Regions from separate parts of the Homo sapiens genome. Here regions 1 and 3 are each linked to region 2. The links are contacts of gene promoters, found by promoter capture Hi-C in human tissues and cell types (Jung and others, 2019). All regions are on one chromosome and are shown on one strand. The core of a region is centred on a gene start or on the middle of the fragment in contact, and the rest is flanking DNA. Distances in the headings are between cores, read along the strand shown.

The links. The method cuts DNA at HindIII sites, captures the fragments that hold promoters and counts their contacts. A contact is called where the count stands out against the background at its distance.
Region 1: a contact is called between a fragment that was not itself captured here and the fragment with the promoter of TMC2 in region 2, in 4 of the 25 tissues and cell types used here (H1 embryonic stem cells, pancreas, psoas muscle and 1 more).
Region 3: a contact is called between a fragment that was not itself captured here and the fragment with the promoter of TMC2 in region 2, in 1 of the 25 tissues and cell types used here (small bowel).

Annotation. Positions count from the first base shown.
Region 1 is chr20:2,596,604-2,600,780 of GRCh38, reverse strand. It overlaps TMC2 (transmembrane channel like 2), which reads right to left. Exons shown (of 20, transcript NM_080751.3): 10 at 3,483-3,630. Among named protein-coding and RNA genes, the nearest start is that of NOP56, 54 kb to the left of the region's middle. The HindIII fragment of the contact is 6,794 bases long and covers 1-4,177 here.
Region 2 is chr20:2,533,414-2,537,823 of GRCh38, reverse strand. It overlaps TMC2 (transmembrane channel like 2), which reads right to left and starts at 1,251. Exons shown (of 20, transcript NM_080751.3): 1 at 1,169-1,251; 2 at 508-555. The coding sequence starts at 1,202. LOC105372504 (a long non-coding RNA gene) reads left to right here. Exons shown (of 3, transcript XR_937204.3): 3 at 3,214-3,296. The HindIII fragment of the contact is 10,824 bases long and covers 1-4,410 here.
Region 3 is chr20:2,578,137-2,582,269 of GRCh38, reverse strand. It overlaps TMC2 (transmembrane channel like 2), which reads right to left. Exons shown (of 20, transcript NM_080751.3): 6 at 3,043-3,124; 7 at 2,214-2,320. Among named protein-coding and RNA genes, the nearest start is that of TMC2, 44 kb to the right of the region's middle. The HindIII fragment of the contact is 3,260 bases long and covers 1-3,142 here.

The DNA of each region.
Region 1 (4,177 bases), core at 30-2,529, 63 kb before region 2:
ACAATCTCGGCTCACTGCAAGCTCCGCCTCCCAGGTTCACGCCATTCTCCTGCCTCAGCCTCCCAAGTAGCTGGAACTACAGGCACCCGCCACCATGCCCGGCTAATTTTTTTTGTATTTTTAGTAGAGACAGGGTTTCACTGTATTAGCCAGGATGGTCTCGATCTCTTGACCTCGTGATCTGCCCGCCTCAGCGTCCCAAAGTTCTGGGATTACAGGCGTGAGCCACCACACCCAGCCACACCCGGCTAATTTTTGTATCTTTAGTAGAGGCAGGGTTTCCCCATGTTGTCCAGGCTGATCTCAAACTCCTGACCTCAGGTGATCCACCTGTCTCAGCCTCCCAAAGTGCTGGGATTACAGGCATGAGCCACTGTGCCTGGCCTTAAACTTATTTTCGAATTGTTTTCTGTTAGTATATAAAAATTGATTTTTGATTATTAAACTTGTGCCCTAGACACAGAGTAATTGGTAGAACCAGGATGAAAAATGAGCTCTCCCAGACCCCAAAGTCTTAATTCACAGAATTTTCACATCTATTCTGTTATACAAGTATATTATGTCTCTTTTAATAAACTTACAAAAGAAGTCATTTTACTTCTCACATGTTCAAAGTGTTTCAAAGACATTGATCTTCTTTGTCCCTCTCTCACAATCCTGGAGGAAAAGTCAAAGCCCCCAGTCACCCCTACCCTGGCTTTGGATGGAAGTGGCCATAAGCCCCCCATTGCTGTAAGAAGGAGAAGGAGAGGAGACAGAGTCAGCTCCCTGCTCCATGCACTGCAAAGCCCACCGGGCTCTAGGGCTGGGAAACCCATGCTGTGAGTTGCTGAGCTCAAGCCCTTTTCCTAGTGGGTGTCCCTGCCATCTGCAGGCATCAGTCAGTGGACAGCAGGAAGGAATTCAAGAGAGGGGAGGGGCAAAGAAAAGAGAACGAAGCGCAGTTGTAGTGTAATGTGAGCTTTGCTAGGTCCTGGGGGAAAGAAAGCTTCACTGATCAGACAGGAGAAATATTGAGCCATAAAGAACTTGGAATGGGAGCTGGGTGCAGTGGCTCACACCTGTAATCCCAGTGCTTTGGGAGGCCAGGGAGGGAGGATGGCTTGAGGCCAGGAATTTGAGACCAGCCTGGGCAACATAGTGAGAGACTTCATCTCTACAAAAAATAGAAAAATTTAACTGGGCATGGCACTCCAGCCAGAGTGAGACCTTGTCTCCAAAAAAAAAAAAAAAAAAAAAAATGTAATTAAAGAAAAAAAAAACGAAGAACTTGGAATGGTTTTTACAATCACGGGGGCAAAGTACAATGTACAATGCTTCAGCATTACAGCTTTGGCCTTCATTCATTTGCTTCCCAGCTGGATGGTTATTTTATATGAGCTATAGTTCTGTAGACCTCCTCAAACCTCTCTTGTAAAGAAATTATTTGTGTGTGGATTGAAAGAAACATAGGGTTGATTTCATCTTTTTTTTTTTTTTTTTTTTAACATTATCCCATTCATTCATTCATTTTGAGCCAGAGTCTCACTCTGTCACTCAGGCTGGAATGCCGTGGTGCGATCTTGGCTCTCCGCAACTTCTGTCTTTTGGATTCAAGAGATTCTCCTGCCTCAGCCTCCCGAGTAGCTGGGATTGGCAGGTGGATCATTTGAGGTCAGGAGTTCAAGATCAGCCTGGCCAAAATGGTGAAACCCCATCTCTACTAAAAATACTTTTTATTTTTTAAATATGCAAACCCAACCACTCAATTATACATACACTCCAACTGCAACTTAGAACCCTAAAATAGTCCTTTGTTTATTATGCACCCTCAGAAGGGTTTTTCTGCTTTGTTGTACCTTTTTTTTGGACATGTACACACAGGAAACTTTCTGTCTCTTTTTTTATCTCATGGAACTGTGTTTTGATTTGTTTTGTTTTGTTTTCAGAACCCCCCATGCCTGTTTTTATACCAGTCACATAAATAAACAACACCCAGTCTCACTGGAAAATGATGGAAACTTTGTCAGCAGCACTTCACATGAAAAAAACTCTTGTTTAGAAAATAAATGGTGATTTTAAAGTAGAGACATGGGCTGGGCACAGTGGCTCATGCTTGTAATCCCAGCACTTTGGGAGGCCGAGGCGGGCAGATCACTTGAGGTCAGGAGTTTGAGACTGGCCTGGTGAAACCATGTCTCTACTAAAAATACAAAAAAATTAGCCGGGCATGGTGATGTGCACCTGTAATCCCAGCTACTCAAGAGGCTGAAGCAGGAGAATCACTTGAACCCAGGAGCCGGAGGTTGCAGTGAGCTGAGATTTTGCCACTACACTCCACCCTGGGTGACAGAGCGACACTCTGTCTCAATAAATAAATAAATAAATAAATAAATAAATAAATAAAGTAGAGGCAAGGTCTGTGAAGGAACCCTCTCAGTCAGAATCCTACACACGTGCAAAGGTTTGCCCACCTCAGCCCCTGTGGGACTGATCTGCACAGACCATATTGCTAGCCTTCTGTCACCAAGCTTTCACTCTGTCTCCCTTTCTCTCTCTTTGTTATTTTCCAACTACCAAGTTCAAATTCTTTTTTTTTTTTTTCATTTCACTAGCTTTCTGGGGAACAGGTGGTGTTTGGTTACATGAATAAGTTCTTCAGTGGTGATTTCTGAGATTTTGGCGCAGCCATCAGTGTTGATTTCTTTATTCCCACAGCCCCAAACCAGGGTTCTCAGCTCTTTCTGAGTATTCTAATCACTTGGGGAGCTTTTGAAAAACCAATGTCAGGACCCTACTCCAGGCCAGTTATATCAGAGTCTCTGTTAGTGGATCCCAGGAGATCTTTTAAGCTCCTCAGGTGATTCTAGTATGCAGAAAAAGTTGAGAAATGCTTTCCCCAAATGAGTCCTTCCACTTATTCCAGCAGAAATGTGTTTCACGTAGAAACAGGCAGCACCAGGTCTCAGCATCCAGGATACTCTGTCATATTAAGAAACAGACAGGCTGGGCGTGGTGGCTCATGTCTGTAATCCCAGCACTTTGGGAGGTGCAGGAGGGCAGATCACTTGAGGTCAGCAGTTCAAGACCAGCCTGACCAACATGGTAAAACCCCATCTCTACTAAAAATACAAAAAAAAAAAAAAATTAGCTGGGCATAGTGGCAGGCACCTGTAGTCCCAGCTACTCGGGAGGCTGAGGCAGGAGGATCGCTTGAGCCCAGGAGGCAGAGGTTGTAGTGTGCTGAGAGCACACCACTGCACTCCAGCCTGGGCAATGGGAGAGAGATGCTGTCTCAAAAAGAAAAGAAAAGAAACAGACAGTGGGCACCAGCCACGAACATTCTTACTTAAGGGTTTGAAAACTGGGCTCACATTTCTGGGAAGGCTCTTGCCACAAATTATTTGAGGACCTTATTTTCTATGTCCCAGCTGGGAGAAGTCTCTCAATGACCAGAGGGACCTAGAGTTCTCCGGAAGTGGGAACTGCCCTGGGGTGACTACCTTGAAGCTGGTGGTGATGGATGCATATTTGTTATCAGCTGTCTCTGAATTCCCGATCAGGTAGTCCCAGCTGGTGAACATCTTGAAGCTGAATGTGAAGTTGTCACTCTCCCCTTCGCCTGTGCTTCCTTGGGTATTGCTGGCCATCCTGTAGGGCACACAGCACTGTTGTGACGTCTGCCCTCTTTCTGCTGTGTCACCCCCAGGGAACCTTGGCCTAGCCAGTCTCGGACACAGGTAACAGATAAACAGGTAGCTGACATTCAGTGACAAAACAAGCCAGGCAGGGACTTGAGCCAAGACAGCTTTGAGGATAGCCAGGACACCCTTCCCCCCAAATTCAGAGTCCCCTGAAAGCACACATGGTATCAATGAGGTAATAAAAAGCCTGCAGGAGACAAGACACGTGACCATGTTTTCTTCCCTACACCCGATTTCCTGTGGCTTGACTCATCTGCAAATGCAGTTTGAGAACTCTATACGGGAGTCTATTCTCAAACAGGAACGTCCCCTTCTAAGTCATCTATTTTCTTGGATAGAACACACACACACATACACACACACACACACACACACACACATATATATTTTTTTCTGATATAAAATGCAAAACACACTGAGGTGGCTGGTGCTACTTTGTTGTGCTACTTTTTTTTTTTTTTTTTGGTAACAGAGTCTCGCTCTGTCGTCCAGGC
Region 2 (4,410 bases), core at 2-2,501:
TCTCTCCCGCCTATGGCTTCCTTGGGCTCTCCCACTTCTCCTGGAGCAAGTTGGCTCCCTCACCGGCTCACGGGAGAGCTGTGGTCACATTCCCAGTGGGAAGGTGATGGAGCACCCATTATGCCTACTACTTTTTGGAGGTTAAGAGTGTTCCTCCTAGAGTCCGGGGGCCTGGATGTGAATCTGGCCACACCACCCGCCAGAAGCCTGCACCGAGCTTCCCTGCCCTCTGTCTGGTGAATGTTCACTGCTTCCCAAGGCTCAGCTCAGAGTGTCACTAACCCTGGGAGTCTCCCCTGACACCGAGGGCTGAGCAGCACCTTCTCTGAGTGGTACTCTGCCCCCTCCCATGTTAAACACCTTGCCTCCCAGGAAGGCTCCATGCAGGGTGTTGAATGAGAGGGAAGGAGATGAAGGAGAATGTTGGATGGGTGGCTGGACTGTTGGGCTAAGCAGAGGGCACCCAGGCACTGCAGGCTCCCCAGAGACCCCACCACCCCATCTCACCTGTGTGTGGAGAGCCGCTCTTCACCCGCCCTTTCACTCCGCCTCGTGCTGTAAGAGACAGGATTGCTGACAAATGGCTGGCCTCTGGTGAGTCCCCCTCCCTGCAGACCCCCGGTCACTGTGGGACCCCTCAGCTGATTTGTGGCTGCCTCAAACTGGGACCCAGCTCCAATGATTTTACTCAGCAAATTATAGAGTCCCCTGCCTGTCACATTTGTCTGATACTGTCAGTCATGAGGTCAGAACATCCCCCACCCCCTGCCCTGCACAGAGACAGAGACAGATAGAAATCTGCTGAGGGGCTTGCTCGGAACAGGCAACCCTAACCGAGACAATAGGTGGCTGAGACGCCCCAGCAGGCTCTGAGGAGCATGCATCGGCCGTGACAGTCTCCAGTGCTGGCCTGAACACAGGTGCTGTGCACAGGTTGTCTTGAATCCTTCCAGTAGCCCTGCAAGGAGGTGATGACTACCCCCATCTCATGCGTGAGGATCAGAGAGGTTGAATAACCAGCCGAGGTCGCTCAGCGCACAGGGGACAGGCCCTGGACTCAAACCCAGCTCCTCCCTATGCCTCTGAACACCATATGTGCTTCCCCCATCCCCTGCTGCTGCCCAGGAACCCTGTGGGCGGGCCCCGCAGGATCAGGACGTGGACTCACCTTCCTCTTTCAGGCCCTTTACCTGGTGGCTCATGGTCAGCAGCACTGCTGGGGTCCTGCACAGGCTCACGCAGCGTGCTCCTGTATGCACGCCTTCAGCCTGGGCTGCTTTCCTGCCCTCATGGTGGCTGGCCTCCCTTCCTAGACCTGACAGCAGGCGGGGCTTCTTGGTTTGAGATTGAATGTGGAGGTGGGTGAAGTTTGGGGGAGAGAGACGGGTGAAGGAAGGCGACGAGTTCCCGGCCCATCAATCCGGCCACACACTCCTCTTCTCAGGTTTCCCTGCAAAGAGGCAGCATGGCCTCATGTTTCAGGCATCAGTTATACATGAGGGGCCCTGGAGGGGCCAGGAGCTGCAGGCTTATCTCCTGGCAATGATGCCGCTGGCACTCTAGCCAGAGGAGGTGTGAGGAGCATCCCAGGCCCTCTCCCACTATCTTGAGTCCCTGATTGGGACAAAGCACCAGGGAAATTCTAGAATGTTTGTTTAAGTTATTACTTGGGCTTCTGTTTAAAATGCAGATTCTGGCATGTGGTGGTTCACACCTGTAATCTCAGCACTTAGGAAGGCAGAGGCAGGAGGATTGCTTGAGCCCAAGAGCTCAAGACCAGCCTGTGCAACGTAGTGAGACCCCATCTCCACAAAAAGAAAAATAATAATAATAAATTTTTAAAAATAAAATGCATACTCCCAGGAGTGGCACTGGGCGTTGGAATCAGTCAGTCTGTGCCAGGCCCTGGGAGCCTGCACTGTGGATCCTGCTGCAGGCGTCCTGAGCCCACACAGATGAATGTTCCCGCTCAGCCCCCGCCCCCTCCCTCAGCAGCTTTTCCTCCCTGGCTTCAGGGAGGCACAGATTTGGCTGCTTTGAAAACCATCACTAAAGTGTCAGAGGGACCCTCTGGAAGGCAGTCATAAGGTCTCAGAGTGTGGAGTTCTTAATCTGGAGTCCCTGGAACCCCCAGAGCTGTGGATGGAATTCTGTGGGTTTGTGAATAGTGATGGAGAAAATACTACACTTTCACTTTTCCTAGCCTTAACTGCGATTTAGCATTTCCCTCAATCATGAATGTAAGCAAAGATGTGATTTTTGTCTCAGCAAAAGTCACAGTTATTTTTTTTCCCAATTAAACCACTGGGGATGTCTCAAAATATCTTACATGTTATCACAACTTCAAAATTATGATAGTTAGAGACCTGCCATGAAATCTTGTTATTTAATTAGGAAGCATATATTGTCATTATATGAAAGATATTTAAAGTGATTTTGATGCCTATTTCAGGATCATTGGTCTCCTTTGTAATCCTAGTGTTTTATTTTATGGATTTAATGTCTATGTTCTGAAAAGCGGTCTGTGGCTGGGCGTGGTGGTTCACGCCTGTAATCCCAGAATTTTGGGAGGCCAAGGCAGACGGATCACCTAGGGTTGGGAGTTCCGGACCAGTCTGGCCAACATGGTGAAACCCCATCTCTACTAAAAATGCAAAAATTAGCCGGGCGTGGTGGGATGTGTCTGTAGTCCCAGCTACTCAGGAGGCTGAGGCAGAATTGCTTGACCCAGGAGGTGGAGGTTGCAGTGAGCTGAGATTGCACCACTGCACTCCCTGGGTGATAGAGTGAGACTCTGTCTCAAAAATAAAAAAAAATATAAAAAGGGGTCTACGGACCTTACCAGGATGCCAAAGGATTCTATGACACAACAGAATAAAAAGCCTTCCCCAGGGCAAGTCTCCTGTGGGTGTCAAGGACAGACCTAGCCTCTGATCATGCCCATGTACTTTCTCAGGGGTCAGGAGTAGGAGTGCCTGTCCTCATGCAAGCTTGGCGAGGGAAGGGGCAAAGGAGCTACCTCTAAAATGCACGTGCAACGGTTCATCTCAAGCTTTGAAGCTTTTCTCTTTGTCCCACACCTTGATCTCCGACCCAACTGGTTCCTGCAGGGCCGCCCCAGTCCCCGGGGCATGAGGGCAGTGGGAGGATCTCAGTTGCATTCTCTGGCATCCATACTGCAGGACTGCAGCCGCAAATCCCTCTCCCCACCAGGGCCATGCCAGTGCAGGACCCCGGTCCATGTGAGAAGCAGCACGGGCAGCTGTGCAGCCACAGGACAGCGTGGCCCAGAGGACTGGTGAGTAAGGTTTCTGCTGGGGGTGCCCCAAGCGCTCTCCCCTGATGAGTGAGGACCCCCAGCAGCCCTTTACCCTGCTCTTTTTTTTTTTTTTTTTTTTTTTTGAGACAGCGTCTGGCTCTGTCGCCCAGGCTGGAGTGCAGTGGCGCGATCTCGGCTCACTGCAAGCTCCGCCTCCTGCCTTTACCCTGCTCTTGTTGTTCTCTGTTGCCAGAGGAGAAAGGCTTTCTACAACACCTTCATCTCCGGAGAGAAATTCCCTCCAGATAGGACTATCAAATTCCCTTGTACCTGACTGTCCACACAGTCGATAACTCCACTTTTCTCCTCACAGATAAAAATGAGCACCCACTGGGGTCAGAGTCAGTTCTCGGCTCTGGGGATTCATCAGCAAATGAAACAGAGACCCTTGTCCTCAGGGGCTGATGTGTTTTTGCTGTCTGGTGGCTGGGTTTAGCCCTTGGTGTCTGAAGGAGTGATCTAGGAATTGGCAGATTTCTTCTCTCTCACAACAAACCCTGCTTTCCACAATTATTTCTAAGGAATTCAAAAATCCAAGTTTGGAAGTCAGATACTGAACACAGAGTATTTTGCTTTTTTCTTTGCACGCCACCTAGATCAATTCCAATGCTTCCTGAGATGAATACACATTCAGGCAAGAGGGAGCAGGTCTCACATCAGAGAGTGTGAGAAAGAAAACGACAGTGATGTCTTAAAACTATTATCCTCGTGGCATGTGTGTTGCACACTGCTCTGTGCTAGGTCCTGCCTGGGGCACTCTTGCCCCAACCTCTCTATTTCTCACAACAGCCCGGTGAGACAGTGTTGTCACTCCCATGTGTCAGATGAAGAAAATGAAAAAACGCGGAGCCCTTGTGTCTCCTGGGCAGGTCTGTGACAAGAGATCAATTGAGTCTGGGTCTGGAAGCTGGGATATGTGGCTTTGACTTGGGCTGACCATTAAATCCCCAAGTGCCTTCTTGTGAAGGTCACTTCTGGGCTGTGGTTTCCTTGTTGTTCAGGGTTAGATTCCGTAGTGGACACTGCCAGTGATCTGCCCAGATTCCCTCTCAGAGCAAGTGCACCCATCCTCCAGGGCTAAGGCACATAGC
Region 3 (4,133 bases), core at 263-2,762, 44 kb before region 2:
GTCTGATTCCCATATGGCCAATTTCCCATCATCCTAAATAAGAAGGCATCTTGAGACACCCCACACCCTAATTGCTGTTATCCAACCTGTCATCAAGACTTGTCCGTGCACTTCACTCTGATTCCTCTCTTTTAATCCATTCCCATTGATATTACCCGGATCTAGCACTGACCTACTGCAACAGGCTGCTACCTGGTCTAAGCCTCTTCCCTTCTCCCCTATTTCCCTTCTTCCCTTCTCCTTCTTCCCAAGCCAAGGCTCCTCTTTCCAGCAAAGCATCTCTCTCTCTCTCTTACTCTCAACCCACTCCAGTATGGTTTTCCCAATCACCTGCCAATCAAATCAAGGTTCTCTAGCACGAATGGTTCAGATCTTGGCTGCTTCATTGGAATGCACCAATCACTAAGTTTTTATTGTTTAAAATAAATGTTCCCTCATAAAAATATTAAAAACTTACATAAATTATACCAAATTTAATGTTCTCTTTTAAAAAGCAACCGAGTGTCCTTAAAATTGCTCAACTTCCCCCAAACCTGCCTTTTATGGACCACTGCACAGCAAAATTTCAGAGATGTCTCATAGGCCTGTGGCATTTAAATGTGCTCTCTTCTCATGGAATAAAAGCTTCCAAGAAGAAAGCCAAGAGCTTTGTGAAGGTAAATTTCCCCATTGACTACCGAGGAAAACATTTCATATTTACCTGACTATGGAGGAGATAAATGAGACTTCCTATTAGCTTTTGACAATATTTTCCCCCTGGGGAGAACCAGACTTGGTGTAAGAGTGTTTGTGTACGCTTGACAGTGACGTTTAAAATGCTAACTTCTGGGTCAGAGAGTGATATTGGCATAAGAATATATGTAGGGCTCAGTGGACTCAGAACCCTTGATTTCTAGGTGTGTTTATGAAAGAGTACAAAGGCTAGTTAATGACATATTTGTAAGCACACATTTTGAGTAATATAGAAAAGAATTCAACAATTTTATGAATAATGTAACACTCCTTTGCTACCAAAGGCTATTATAATGCATGGTCAACCTCCTCCAATAAATCTGATTTAATTCACATTATGTGAAAGGTTTTTAATGTCCTGAAAGTGGCTGTGCAGAAAATGTAACTGCAGATAGAATTGACTCCAATATGCTCACAGAACCATTTATAACAAAATAGGAGTCAGTAAGTCATCAAAGAACCAATTAATACACCTGTGAGGAAGAAAATACTAAATGCACACATACTGTTCCTCTGAAAGCTGTTGAAGTAGACCCACTTGTGTACCCAGCACCAGCATCAAGGATTTCAGTCAGGACTGTAGCAATTGTAGCAATTGCTGTGCTCAGTGCTTAGTGAGCCACAGGCTCCTTGGAAAAGACCCTAAGCCATCACTCTGGGGACCTGAGATCCAATTCACAATGATCTTATTGTGTGACTTTGCACAAATTGCTCATTACCCCTTTTTTGTTTCTCAATTAATCATCTGTAGATAAGAATCTATTTATGTCCATAATAAGATTATATCTGGGGCCAGGTATGGTGGGTTATGCCTGTAATCCCAACACTTTGGGAGGCTGAGGTGGGAGAGCTACTTGAGCCCAGGAGTTCAAGGCTGCACTGAACCACGATCACATCACTGCCCTCCAACCTGGGCAACAGAGTGAGACCCTGTTTCTAAAAAAAACCTCCTTAAAAATTATATATGGGAGAATAGTGAGGAGTGATAGTCAAATCCAAGTTTTTTTGGTGATAAATAATGATATAATGTATTCTATCCCTCTCTTTTTTCTGAGAGTAAAAGAAAAAAACTCATTGAAACATTAATTCTCCACTGATCTTAAGGTAAAATGAGAAGTAGAAAAATGTAAGATTCACCTACTAATTAAGGAACAAAGTATTTTGGTTCCATTCTTTGTATTTAACTATCTGGGTAATTGATGTGAGTACATTAGGTCGTAGGTTGGTGCAAAAGTAATTGTAGTTTTTGCCATTACTTTTAATTTTATAAATTTACTTTTCATGGCAGTAATTTATAAATTACTTTTAATGGCAAAAAATTAAAATTACTTTTAATGCAAAACAATTACTTTTGCACCAGCCTAATAGCATTTTAAATGAATGACTGATTCTTTGTAAAACAGGAAGTATTTGGTTGATAATTGATGACGGTGGTCATAAGCCTTAACTCTATCCAAAGATTTAGGAAGTTCTTTTCTTACCTCTGGGATTATGACTAGACCAAATATTAAGCCAAAAAGGACAAGGTTAACTCCATACATCCATCGGAGAAAGATGAAATACGATGCCACTGAAGAACCAAAGTGACCTAGAGAGAGAAAAGACGGTGGGTATGAGTGCTGCAGAAGGAAAAAATGGACACTATTGAGCACTTTATGTGTGTGGTGGATTCAATTTTCACATCAGTCTGTTGAATGACACCTGGATCTCCCTTTCTTTTCCTGGATAAATAACCTGAGGCTCTTTGGGGTTAACTAACTTGCCTAAGTGCCCACAGTCAGAAAGTGAAAAAGCAGAATTTAAATCTTGGTCTGGGATGAGTGCGGTGGCTCACGTCTGTAATCCCAGCACTTTGGGAGGCTAAGGTGGGTGGATCACTTGAGGTCAGGAGTTCGAGACCAGCCTGGCCAACATGATGAAACCCTGTCTCTATTAAATATACAAAAAAATTAGCCAGGTGTGGTGGCCCAGACCTGTAATCCCAGCTACTCAGGAGGTTGAGACAGAAGAATCGCTTGAACCTAGGAGGTGAAGGTTGCAGTGAGCCAAGATCACACCACTGCACTCCAGCCTGGGCAACAGAGCGAGACTCTGTCTCAAAAATAAATAAAAATAAATAAATAAATAAATAAATAAATAAATAAATAAATAAAAAATAAATCTTGGCCTGACAAGTTCAAAACTCATTCTTTTTTCCTAATACAACAGAACCAATGAAATAATCTATTCAGAGGGCCAAGGAAACAATCCAAGCTCTTGGGAAACGCTTTAGGAAACCAATTAAAAAAACAGTGACACCAGCATACTCACTTTCAATGTCCTTGATCTTCATTTCCCAGGGGATACATTGAGTCTTGAAATTATCAAAGTCTCTCTTAAATTTGACCCATTTCTGAAATAAAAGACGTAAAACTCTCAGTTCCTTAACATGTCAACCTGGAGCACAAAGGGGCATGATGAGGGGCACGAGGAGGCCGACAGGTCAGCATGAGTCAGCATGGGTGAAGCTGCTGTCTTGCAGTCCCCAGCTCCTGCTGTCCTTGAGCCCAGGCTGCCAGAGGCAGGTGTTCAAACCTTTACTTCCCCAACGTCAGGCCTGGAGTGAGAGACAAGTGAGGGCCACCCCTTACTGTGCTGATAAAATTTCTGGTTTGGACAGTTTGTAGATAAAGTGAGAAATTCTCTGTACGATTTCTGATTTGGAGGGTCCGATTGAGTTAGCAACCTCTGATATGACTTTCTTCAACTTAAAACAAAAATTCAAAGGTAGAAGGAACTCTGGCTACTCTCAGACCCACGTCTGGCAGACAGCCAAGTGCCTCTCTCTGATAGGAACTGTCGCAAAATTGCAGGGGTGGTGCAACTGATAAGGAGATCTCAACCCATAGCTGAACATTCTTCTCCTGGGGGAACAACAGCCTCGCTTTTCTGAAAAGAGTCAGAAAGGCATGTTGCCCCCTCCTGTGATCTGTTCCCAGCTAGACACCCAGACTATGTACCAAACAGAAACCTGATCAGCCGTCTTTCTATGGCTGGGTGTTGTTTTGTCAACTCTCCAAGGGACTGCTCTCCACCAGCCCCACATTGTGGAAACAAATCCATTTGGAATAAAACAGATACTCATAGAAAGCTGAGGTAGAAATACTCATAGAAAGCATAAGAGGTAGTAGAGAGCAGATCCTAAGATCAGTTCCCATTATTATTATTATTGTTATTTTGAGATGGAGTCTCACTCTGTTGCCCAGGCTGGAGTGCAGTAGCGCAATCTCGGTTCACTGCAACCTCCACCTCCGGGGTTCAAGCTATTCTCCTGCCTCAGCCTCCTGAGTAGCTGGGATTACAAGCACGCACCACCACGCCTGGCCAATTTTTCTATTTTTAGTAGAGATGGGTTTCACCAT